Regions from separate parts of the Homo sapiens genome. Here region 1 is linked to region 2. The links are contacts of gene promoters, found by promoter capture Hi-C in human tissues and cell types (Jung and others, 2019). All regions are on one chromosome and are shown on one strand. Each heading gives the region's core, a stretch centred on a gene start or on the middle of the fragment in contact. The rest is flanking DNA. Distances are from core to core; before and after follow the strand shown.

Region 1 (5,052 bases), core at 806-3,305, 33 kb after region 2:
TCAGGAACCATGTAGTTGCTGTATTATATGATGGGTAAGGAGGGTCTCTCCAACGAAGCAGAGACATGAACAAGGACAGAGACAGAGAGAGCCATGTGGGTTTCTGGGAGAAGAGGTTTTAGAACAAGGGAACATCAAGTGCAAAGGCCCCGAGGTGGTAGCAAACTCGGGGTGTTCTAGGAGCAGCACGAGGAGCAGAGAGAGTGACGAGGAGAGGCAGAAGATGAGGGTAGAGATGTTATGGGGATAGGGAAGAGCAGATCACACAGGCCCTGTGGCTCATGGTAAGGAGTTTATTTTATTCAGTGGGAGATGGGAAGTCATTGCAGAGCATTGAGCAGAAGAGTGGCATTTGACTTACATCTGAAGGCATCACCACTCTGCTATGAGAAGAGATTGGTTGTGGGGCAAGAACAGAAATAGAGAGAGCATATGGAGGTGAATTTGCCTTGGATCAGGAGTTAGTGATAGATGTGGTAAAACGAGGTCAATTCTGATTTTATTTTGAAGGAGAATTTGCTGATGGATTGGATGTGGAGTGCAAGAGAAAAAGTTAAGGGTGACTCCAAGGTTTCGGGGCTGAGCAAATGAAAGGAGCTGCCATCAACTGAGATGGGGAAAGCTGCAGATTGAACAGTCAGGGGGGCTAGAAGTCAGGGTTTGCCTGCTGACATATTAGACTAGAAATGCCTATTAGGCCTCCAATGGGACATGTTAAAGAAGCAGTTGAATCTATGTAAATTTGGGAGTTGTCAACACATGGATGATATTTAGTCATGAGACTGAATGAGATCAATAGGGGAGGGAGTGTGGAGAGAGAAGAGCAGAGCCAGGAGTGCTACAGTGTTTAGAAGTCAGGGAGAGGCCAGGCGCAGTTGCTCATGCCTGTAATCCCAGCACTTTGGGAGGCCGAGACAGGCGGATCATCTGAGGTCGGGAGTTCGAGACCAGCCTGACCAACATGGAGAAACCCCATCTCTACTAAAAATACAAATTTATCTGGACATGGTGGCGCATGCCTGTAATCCCAGCTACTCAGGAAGGCTGAGGCAGGAGAATAACTTGAACCCGGGAGGCGGAGGTTGCGTTGAGCCGAGATCGCGCCACTGTACTCCAGCCTGGGCAACAAGAGCAAAACTCAGTCTCCAAAAAAAAAAAAAACAAACACAGAAGTCAGGGAGATAAGGAGCCACCGGCAAAGTTGACTGAGTTCAACTCAGCTGATGAGAATCAAGAGTGAGAGAGTGGTGTCCCAGAAGCCAAGTGAGGAAAGTGTTTCAAAGAGGTGGAATGATCAACTATGTCAAGTGCAGCTTCATAGCGAAGTAAAACAAGAGCTGAAATTCTGCCATTATATTTGGCAACATGGAGGTCATTGATGACCATAGCAGGTGGAGGGATGGGAGTGAGGTCGAGAGAGAATGAAAGAGAGAGCAGAATCCAGAGGTATAGACTTTTTGCTGTAAAGTAGAACAGGGGGGAAATGGGTGGTAATTGATGGTGAATATAGGGTCAAGAAAGGGTTTTTATTTTTAAGGAAGATATTACAATGGCGTGTTGAAATGAATGGAAATGATCCATTAGAAAAAGAAAAGTGGATGCCGGAGAAAGAGGAGATGTGGGTGGAGCATTGTCCTAGAATCGGCGAAAGGGGTGATACCTAGAGCACAAGTGAAGGGTTTCCATGGAGTAGGAGCACAGGGTTCATGCAAAGGAGCAAGAGGGAAAGCAGGGTATATGGAATAGGTACTGGAAGGTGGGTAGATGTGGTGCTGAGAGCTTTGGCAGTTCTCTTCTTATTGCTTCTAATGTTTTCAATGAAATTTGAAACAAAATCATCGTCACTGAGAATCTAGAGGAGAAGGACATATGAGAAGTGTGAGATGAAAGGAAGCAATGTTAAATAGTTGCCTGGAAGAGTAGGAGAATGAATGGGCTCAGGAAGTACTATGGGATGAGTCCTGCAGTTCATGGTCACAGTTTTCTCCAGCCATGTTCAGATGTGGTATATTTTTGCAACCAAGAGAAAAAATAAGATAAAACAGAGTGTTTATAGTACATAGAAAGGCAAGATTTGTTTTGAACATATATTTGAAATGCCCATGGGATACACACATTAGATATCCAGGAAGCAGTTGATTATACATATATGGCTTGGAGCTCAGAAGGAGGTCTGGGATAAAGGTAGAATCATCAGCAAAGAGGTGGCGATTGAACCTGAGAATGTAGGTGAGGTCTCCCAGGAAAGAAATATAAAGAGAAGAGAGTTGGGCATAAACTTGGGAAACATCCTAATTTTAGGGGTAAAAAGAGGAAAGCCATCCATCAAAGAAGGCAGAGAAAGGGGCGAATATGTAGATGAAGCATGTCTTTCCAGCAGCCTAGAAATGAGACAGTTGAAAGAAAAGGAGTATAAAGTTATTCAGGGAGACCAAGGAGAAGGAGAAAGACCACTGAATTTTCCCAGAAGGAAGCCAGAGCTGGGTTATCTCAGGGCACTTAGCAGAAATGCAAAGAAAAGGAAATCATGAGCAAAAAGATAGGGGGCATGAAGGAACAGACCCAACAGAGCTATGTGCAAATAATTGGAACTTTGGAAGGAGAGAGAGGAGTAACTGGAAGAGAAATGATACTTTTAAAGATATAATAGAAGAAAATGTCTCTGAACTAAAGAAATACCTAATTTGTCTGATCAAAGGGGTGACATGTTAAACTAGAAATGCGTGTTAGACATCCAGGGGAAGATGTTGAAGAAGCAATTGAGTCTAGGTAAATTTGGGAGTAGTTAACACATAGATTATATTTAAAGTCATGAGGCTGAGTGAGATCAACAAGAGAAGGAAGTGTTGGTAGAGAAGAGTCCCCAAGTCCTAGAAAGATGAATGATAAAATCAATACAAAGACAAAATCTGGTGACAATTCTGAGCTCTAAAGAGAAAATCCTAAATGTTCTCAGAGAAAGAAAGATTACAGTCTACTTACAAAGAAAATAAAAGAAAAGAAAGCTGATACCGGATTACTCATCTGCAACAATGTAAGTTCAAAGACAGTGGAATAATGTTCTTACACTAATGAAAGACATGAATATGAACTAGAATTCCCTTACCTAGTCATGACGCCATTCATATTAGAGGGGCTCTAACACCCTAGGATACCATCCATAGGCCCTTTCTGAGGAAATTACTTAAGGATGTATTCCAATCAAATGAAAATTCAGTCAAAACATGGATCTCAAAATGAGGGAAGATAAATCATGCAAATAAGAGTGTGTGTGTGCATGTATGTGTGTGTGTGAAGTCACCAGCAATCATTTGAAGGAGCAATCCTAGGAAAGTAGTGGGAGCAGAAACTGGATTGCAGGGGACATGAAAGCAGTAACCAGATAATATTCCTTTAAGAAACGTGGAGACAAAAATAAGAAGAGAAGGCTACTTGAGGGTCAGAAGAACACTTGACTTTATTTACGAAAGCAAAACCCCAAGTGTGCTTGTGGGCAGAGGAAAAGGAGTTGTGAGTAGGCAGGTGTGCAAAGTACACAAATAACATGTGTAGCATCCCTGATGCGCAGTAGGGATTGAGTCAATTCCGATGATTGGAGAATAGGATTCATTCTATCCCGGAAGGCACAGGCCTATAACTGATTTGGATTTGGAAGGGAGGGAGAGATGTAAGAACTGTCAGGGGAAAGAAGGAAGTTGAGACCATGGGGTCGCAAATGGTCTACTGTGGATACCCAACTGTCTATCAGAATTGCACACGTAAGTCCTGTATTTTAGTATCAGCGTATTTAATTCTATAATCTGGAGTGTTGCCCAGTCAGTGCAGCATTCAGCTGGAATCTGTCTATACCCATTCCCACTCAACCAAAGTAAACCTCTGGAAAGGTTTATTCTGAAGGGTACAAGGGACTGATACTTTATTTATTTAGAGGAAGGATGAATTGGAGCATATCTGGGAATCCTAGACTGGGTACCTGGGGGAAAACATCAAGATATTTGGTTCTCAGTGACATGATGAAAGTAGAAGGGCTCACGGAGGTGGGGACAGGAGCCTAGGACAAAATCAGGTGATGATGTGAAACAGCAGTGCATAAGAATAGGATTGGCTGTGCGATGCAATAGGTATGGCCTTCTGGGTGCGGAGATTCAAATCTTGGCTTTCATTCACTGTGGGTCATTGAGAAAATGATTCCACTTCTCTGAGCATCAGGTCCCTCATCTATAAAAGATGGCAACAGCAGTGACCTTGCAGAACTGCTGTATCACGCTGATTGAACAGGTTGTTGTGGAGGGCCTACTATGTGCCAGGCATTGTTTCCAGTGCTGGGAATTTCTTGGTAAAGAAAATTGTACATGTTTCTTCCTCCTGGAGCTTCTATTCTAGGTGATCATGAGAAGTAGAAGAAGAAAGCCTGCAGATACACAGCTGGGGTCATGGAAAGCACAAAAGGTGCTCAGCACATACCCACTTCCACCTGATCCCTTCCCTAAGTGCCTTTTCCAAAGGCTCTATATCTCACCCACGCCCCAGTCTTTCTCCCCATGTCGGGCAGAATTGTATGGCTCCAAATACCTCCTCCAGTTCTCCAAACCACAGAGGTGCAAGCTACCTGGTTTTTCAGCAGAAACAAAAACCAAACAAATGAACAACAACAACAAAAACCTTGAAAACCAGCCTCTCTCATCTGGACAAAGAGCTGGAAGAGGAAGCCTAGTGCTTGGAGGGCCCCTGGGTTTACAGGACTGGAATCTCAGACCCAGCTTATAAGGGATTACTCTCTATAAGTTCTCCATCTCAGATTGGCTCCTGGCCCTTCTCTAAGGTTCTTCCACACAGCCTGAGTTTGACACATAAGCTCCAACCATTCAAAAACACAAGATCCTGCATTCAGTGGTGTGTGATCTTTTTTTGAACACCCAATCTTTGTCTCTGTGCAAAGGGGTGCACAGTCCCCCAGCCTTCCTCCTCCCCTTCTCTATCTCTAGCCTTTCCCAGGCCTCCCGCTCCTGCCAGCCATGCCCAAACTCTTAACGCTCACGTGTCCAGCTCTCC
Region 2 (5,357 bases), core at 1,777-4,276:
AGTTGCCATAGAAACACCTTTTAACTCCTCCTCCCCCAGAATGCCATGCCAGGCCCTAGGACTTTGGGGAAAAAAGACAAAAAGAGACACCTGTGGATGAGCAGAGACAGGAGGAAAGGCCATCGGGCAGCCCCCCGGAGAGGACCAGGCCAGGCCTCCTGTGCCTTTTGCTAGGCCAACATGGCACCAAGCCATGAAGAGAAAACCACCATGATGGTTTTAAAACAGGAAGTTGATGGGCTGATGTGAACACCTTTAGGGGGCTACAAAGTTGACTGGTGGGGTTGTGTGGGTCCCAAGGAATGGGGAGCTCCTTCATATTTGTTTGAGGGCGAGAATAGACAGTTTCAACCCAGACTGGAAACCAGAAAGGCTCTGAGCAATGAAACTTGGGAGCCAAGTACTGGACGCCAGCAGGGTGCTGTGCAAGGCGAGGGAGGTCGGCAGGCAAGCAGCTCACACCCACACCTCCCATTTTAAAAGCATTAGCTCATCCCTGCCACTAGTGCAGCTCACCAAACCCAGGCAGAACAATTTGGGATCCGTGCCAGAGCATCGAAGATTTTTTGTTTCTTTTTTTCTTTTTGATTCCACAATCTCCTGGTCTTTGGCTACTTCCTGGTAACTTAGATTTTCTCTGAGAAATTTATGAAGAGGAGCGAGGGAGCTATTTCTTGTTTCAATCCAGAGAAATTGTAAGAAACTTTCTGCATTGCTCAGACCCACCGCAGGAAACCTAAGCAGTAAGCAGACGGGAAGGCCCCCATTGGAAGCAGGATCTACTCATGCTTGTTTTCACTTTTCCGTGGTCAATTTTTAGGGTAGAAACCCCAAAGCAAAGGGCAAGGGGGAAGAATGGGGACCTACTCCCACTACATACCAAAAAAACGCAAGTGAAGTCACCCAGCCCATTTTCCAGCAGAAAAGGACTTGGGCTGCACCCCTGCACACCCTGATTCCACCTGCCAGCCTCCTGGCCGCACGTGTGTGATCCTGCTGGGCAAAACCAGAACTCAGCTGCAGCAGCAACTCCCCACACTAATCAGGTGGGAATGTTACCAACTGGGATGAGGAGGGAAAGGGTAAGTGGAATGTGGGTGGAGGTGGAGGAGGGAGGAAAACCCTCCCCAGTCTTCAGGCTGCCCAAAAGGATCTTTCTAAGCAATCCACAAATCCTGGGCCAGCTGGGTTCCCCCAGGAGAGGGGAGGATGTACCATGCAGGCCCCAGGGAGCCTCTTACAAGGGTGACCTCAGGTCACACAAACACCCTCAGCTGCCAACTGCACTGACATTCTGGTCACCACACCCCCACTCTGACCTCTAGGCTCAGCCCAGCCCACCAGCAGTGCCCCTCCCGGCCCTCACTGCCTCCCCTGCCAAGCTCCTACCTCCTCCCCCTCCTCACCACAACACGCTGGTAGAGTCCCTCACCCAAGACTCAGTGGAAAATTTCCTTCTCCTTTATGACTGTACTTAAAACACACACGCTCCATTCTTCACCTCTGAATCGACACAGGCAGAGGGCGGCAAGGCTGTCCCACCCCACCGCCCAGCCCAGCCCAGTGCACACACACACACTCTCCCAGCAGAGCCACTGGACTTGCACGCTTTATGGGCTGGAAAGGAGGAGAGAGATGTTTCCCAGATGCCACTCCACCTTTAGCCATCCAAACACAAGTGTCCCAAACACTCCCAGACAAGCCTCCCAGGATGCTCTCGGGGCCCTCCATACACACTAAGGAGTAGGAGGTCTCTTTACAGGGTCTCTCTACTCAAGACACTAAGTCCAGTCTGGAACTGTCACCGTGATGTGACCCTTGGCAGGTTTGTTCTTTTGGTGACAAATCTGTTTTCCACTACCCATTCTCCCCCTCCCCACACACATTCAAGGGGGAAAAAAATAGCCTTCCTGTGAATTTTCACAGCTATGTGGTGAGTGACCCCTCGCACCTTCTGCTGGCTATCAACACTCTCAAACACAGTGCCTCCAGGGCGTGGGTCAATGCCACAGCTTTCTCCTCATTTTCCCCCTTAAATCCACCCAAACTTGGCAGTCCCAGAAGCTCGGTTAGCGCTTGCCTGGGAAGCCTGCAGCTGGGTTGGGTCTCAGTGAAAAGAATGAATTTCATAGGCGCAGGAGATGATGCAGACTCGGAGTACTCCAAGTTTCTCCTGCAACTTTCCGTGCACATGGCGGGCAACTTTTTTTTTTTTTTTTAACTATTCAATTTCCCAGCACTTTAGTTAGCATTCCAAGTTTTGGGAACCCTTTCCCCACCCTTCTCTTCTAGCCCTTCCTCCGTTAGTAGTGAATGGGGACATTTTCCAGATGTCAAAAGGACCGGTAGGAACCTCACGACCTAAGTTAGGAAAGCAAAGGCGGCCAGGGGCTCCCTCAGCCACTGTGAGTTTCCTCTGCAGGGCATCTTCCCCTCTCAGCTATGCCAGCGCCCCCGCCCAAGGACATCGAGTTTCTCCACTCCGCCCCAACCCCGTCTGCCCCTCTCCTGGGGCAGAGGAAAGGAGTGGGGCTCGCCCTGCCTCCCTAAGCAGCGCTGCAGTCCTGGCTGCAGCGTGGGGCTCGGGCGGGGCACCAGGAGCGCTTACCGATGTCGGAGTTGCAGAAGGCGTCCTGGGGGTGGCTGGGCGAGCATGTGCACGCCTCGGCGCCCCAGTCCCCCAGGCTCCAGCTGCCCAGGAGCACGATGAGCCCGAGCCAAGGGGTCATTGCCGCTGCTGCCGCCGCTGCCGGGGCTGCTGCTCGCCTCTCCAAAGTTGCCGTGCGCGCCGCCGGCGGGGCTGCTGCAGCCCGAGCTCGCTCGCCCGCCGGGCCGTGCGGGGCAACCTTGGCCTCCGGCGCGCTGCCCTCCGAGTGCCCGGCGGGACGGGATGGGGCGCAGCGAGGCTGCCTCGGCGCTGGCGCAGGACTCGGCGGGCGGCCTCCCGGCGAAGGAGCAGGAGCTGGAGGAGCAAGAGGAGGAGGAGAAGCCGTCTGAGCGCCCGCCGCCTGCCTGCTGCCCGCTCTGCGCCGCTGCCTGGGCGGCCGAGTGATATAGCGCTGGGCCCCCGGGGACCCCGCCTCGGGCTGTTGGGGCCCGCCCCCTCAGACCAATGGCAGAGCCGCATTACCTCATCGGCCCTCCAAAAAGGGGGCGGGGCCGGGGGCAAGGGGTAACGGGGCGGGGCCGCCCCCGGATCGTTCAGATCCTTATAGGGAATAATGCCGCCGTGGGCACGCGAGTGGGTGGGCTGGGGCGCGCCCGGGACCGGTGCTTGCCGCTGGGTCCTCGGAGCGGAGCCCTCGTGCCCCTTCTCGTCTGCGCCCTGGCCCCACGCCCACCTGGGCCACTGGGTGTCTCTGACCCAAACCAGAACCAACTAACACCCACCCACCCCAGCAGGACCGCTTCCACAGGTGAGGGGTGGCCATGTCCTAGAGACCTTGACTGTGCTTGGTGGAACCAGCGGGGGAATGCTAACTGCTACCCCTCCAGTTTCTCTGGAGAGAGCAGGCACAGAGGAGAAAGACCCAAACTCTCTCTCTTTCTCTCTCTCTCTGGTTCTTACTCTCTGGGATATGGGAAGCCATCTGCTGTTTGCAGCTGGCTATGATATATGATAGAAGACTGTTTTCTGTGCTCTCCCAGAGCAAACGGGGTTCTGTATTCATTCAACAAACACGGTTCAGGATGCTGGGTTAAGCAACACAAAGCCCTTGCCCCCGTGGACATCCATGAATGCACAGGGTGATTTTCTGTGATGCTAGGGCTATGAAGAAAACAAAACAGAGTTCTGGGTTGGACATGACTGGGGAGGGCCTGCTCTCTCTGCGATAGTAAGGGAAGGGCTCCCTGAAGTGCCATCCTCGCTGAGAAGTGGACAAAGACAAGGATCAGCTCTGGGGCAAGCCACAGGAGAGAGGTACCAGGCAGGGGGAACAGCAAGTGCAAAGACCCTGGGCATGTTTGAAAGACAGAAAGTAGAAAGGCAAGAGGAAGTGGTTCCCTGCCCATGGCTGACAGAGCTCCACCCTTCAGCAAGGGATTTGGGGGTGAGCTGATCCAAAACTGTAGTAAAACCAGGAGAACGATCCAGGATCCTAGACGACTAGCTATAATAGATGATTGCAGATAACTAACACAATTACTATCCTTATTATTGACATCTTGATTCTGCTTTGTATTTTTAAAAGCAGGATTCTGTATCTCACCGTATTATAGCTCTCACAATAATCTTTGTGGGTAGGAAAAGCAAGCACAAGTATCACTCCCACTTTCCAGATGAGGAACCGGCACAGAAAGATGGGATGATTGGTGGCCAGCCAGGAACTCGTCACCCCTTTCCACTGCTCCTTCCCATCTGAAGAGAGACATGCATTTCCCTGAACGTCAGCAGCTGTTCCATCTAACTGCAAATGGCCATTTGCAGCTGGGATCTTCCATCTTTCTACACTTTTGTCTCTTTCCCTTTCTCTTCCGCTTCATCCTGTTAGAAATGCCACAAGTTTGGAACAAATAGAAACAGGGAGAAATGCAAGTTCAGCTTCTTTCTCAGAACTCCTCTGTTTACATCTCAGACAAGTGACATTGGGACAGCAGAGGCCGAAGAATTCGTGAGAGATGGTATTTCCAAGAACATTTTTGAAACTCCTTTTTCCCCTTTGAGCACTTTAGCCATAGGAAAGGGAAACCAGTTTCCACATCTTTTTGACTTGTCCCCTCCACCCAGCTTTAAAAACCTTCCCTGCCTTCACTCTAACTGTGGCCTAACTCGTAGAGATGTTTCTGTCTCTCGATGTTTTTCTAGCACTGTTTTCATTGTTTTATGGGGTATGATTCTATTGCTTCCCCAACCACAGTAGGAATACTTTGAGGCCTGGGATATTTAGCCACACTGCTTTTTAGCCCTCTCAGAACCAAATAGGGTCTCAGGAGACTGGAGAGCATGGGTGTGGCCAACAGCTGACTGAGTCCTGAGCAGAGTGCCCTGGAGGCCACTCTAAGGATCCAGGTTGAATGAGGGCATACGTGGTGGAATTTGAGAGATTCGCTTATCCCCGCGCCCCACATGACTTATTCCACAGTCATGTGGAAGGTTTTAGAAGACTTTCCAGACCAAATCCACTTTGGATAAGCATCTTACATGATAGAGGCCCTCTCTTCCCTTTCTTTTCACATTTCAGTTTTGTCCAAAGTGCCGATATTTTCTCCAACGGAAGGCCTTGCCTGGAATATAAGTATCAAGTAGATAACTTCTGCTGAACTTCAAGCAGCAGTTTTCTCATAGAAAGCATCTGAAGCGTTTTTTTCCAGCAGCTACTTAATTATGAAAGCACAAGTATAATCTGATCTTTTTT

What was found. Contacts are between HindIII fragments. The study calls those that stand out against the background at their distance.
Region 1: a contact is called between a fragment that was not itself captured here and the fragment with the promoter of TIMP3 in region 2, in 1 of the 25 tissues and cell types used here (thymus).

What each region holds. Positions count from the first base shown.
Region 1 is chr22:32,765,628-32,770,679 of GRCh38, reverse strand. The region is part of intron 6 of SYN3 (synapsin III); the gene reads left to right. Among named protein-coding and RNA genes, the nearest start is that of TIMP3, 34 kb to the left of the region's middle. The HindIII fragment of the contact is 6,907 bases long and covers 1-5,052 here.
Region 2 is chr22:32,799,374-32,804,730 of GRCh38, reverse strand. TIMP3 (TIMP metallopeptidase inhibitor 3) reads right to left here and starts at 3,026. Exons shown (of 5, transcript NM_000362.5): 1 at 2,609-3,026. The coding sequence starts at 2,729. The region is part of intron 6 of SYN3 (synapsin III); the gene reads left to right. The HindIII fragment of the contact is 19,598 bases long and covers 1-5,357 here.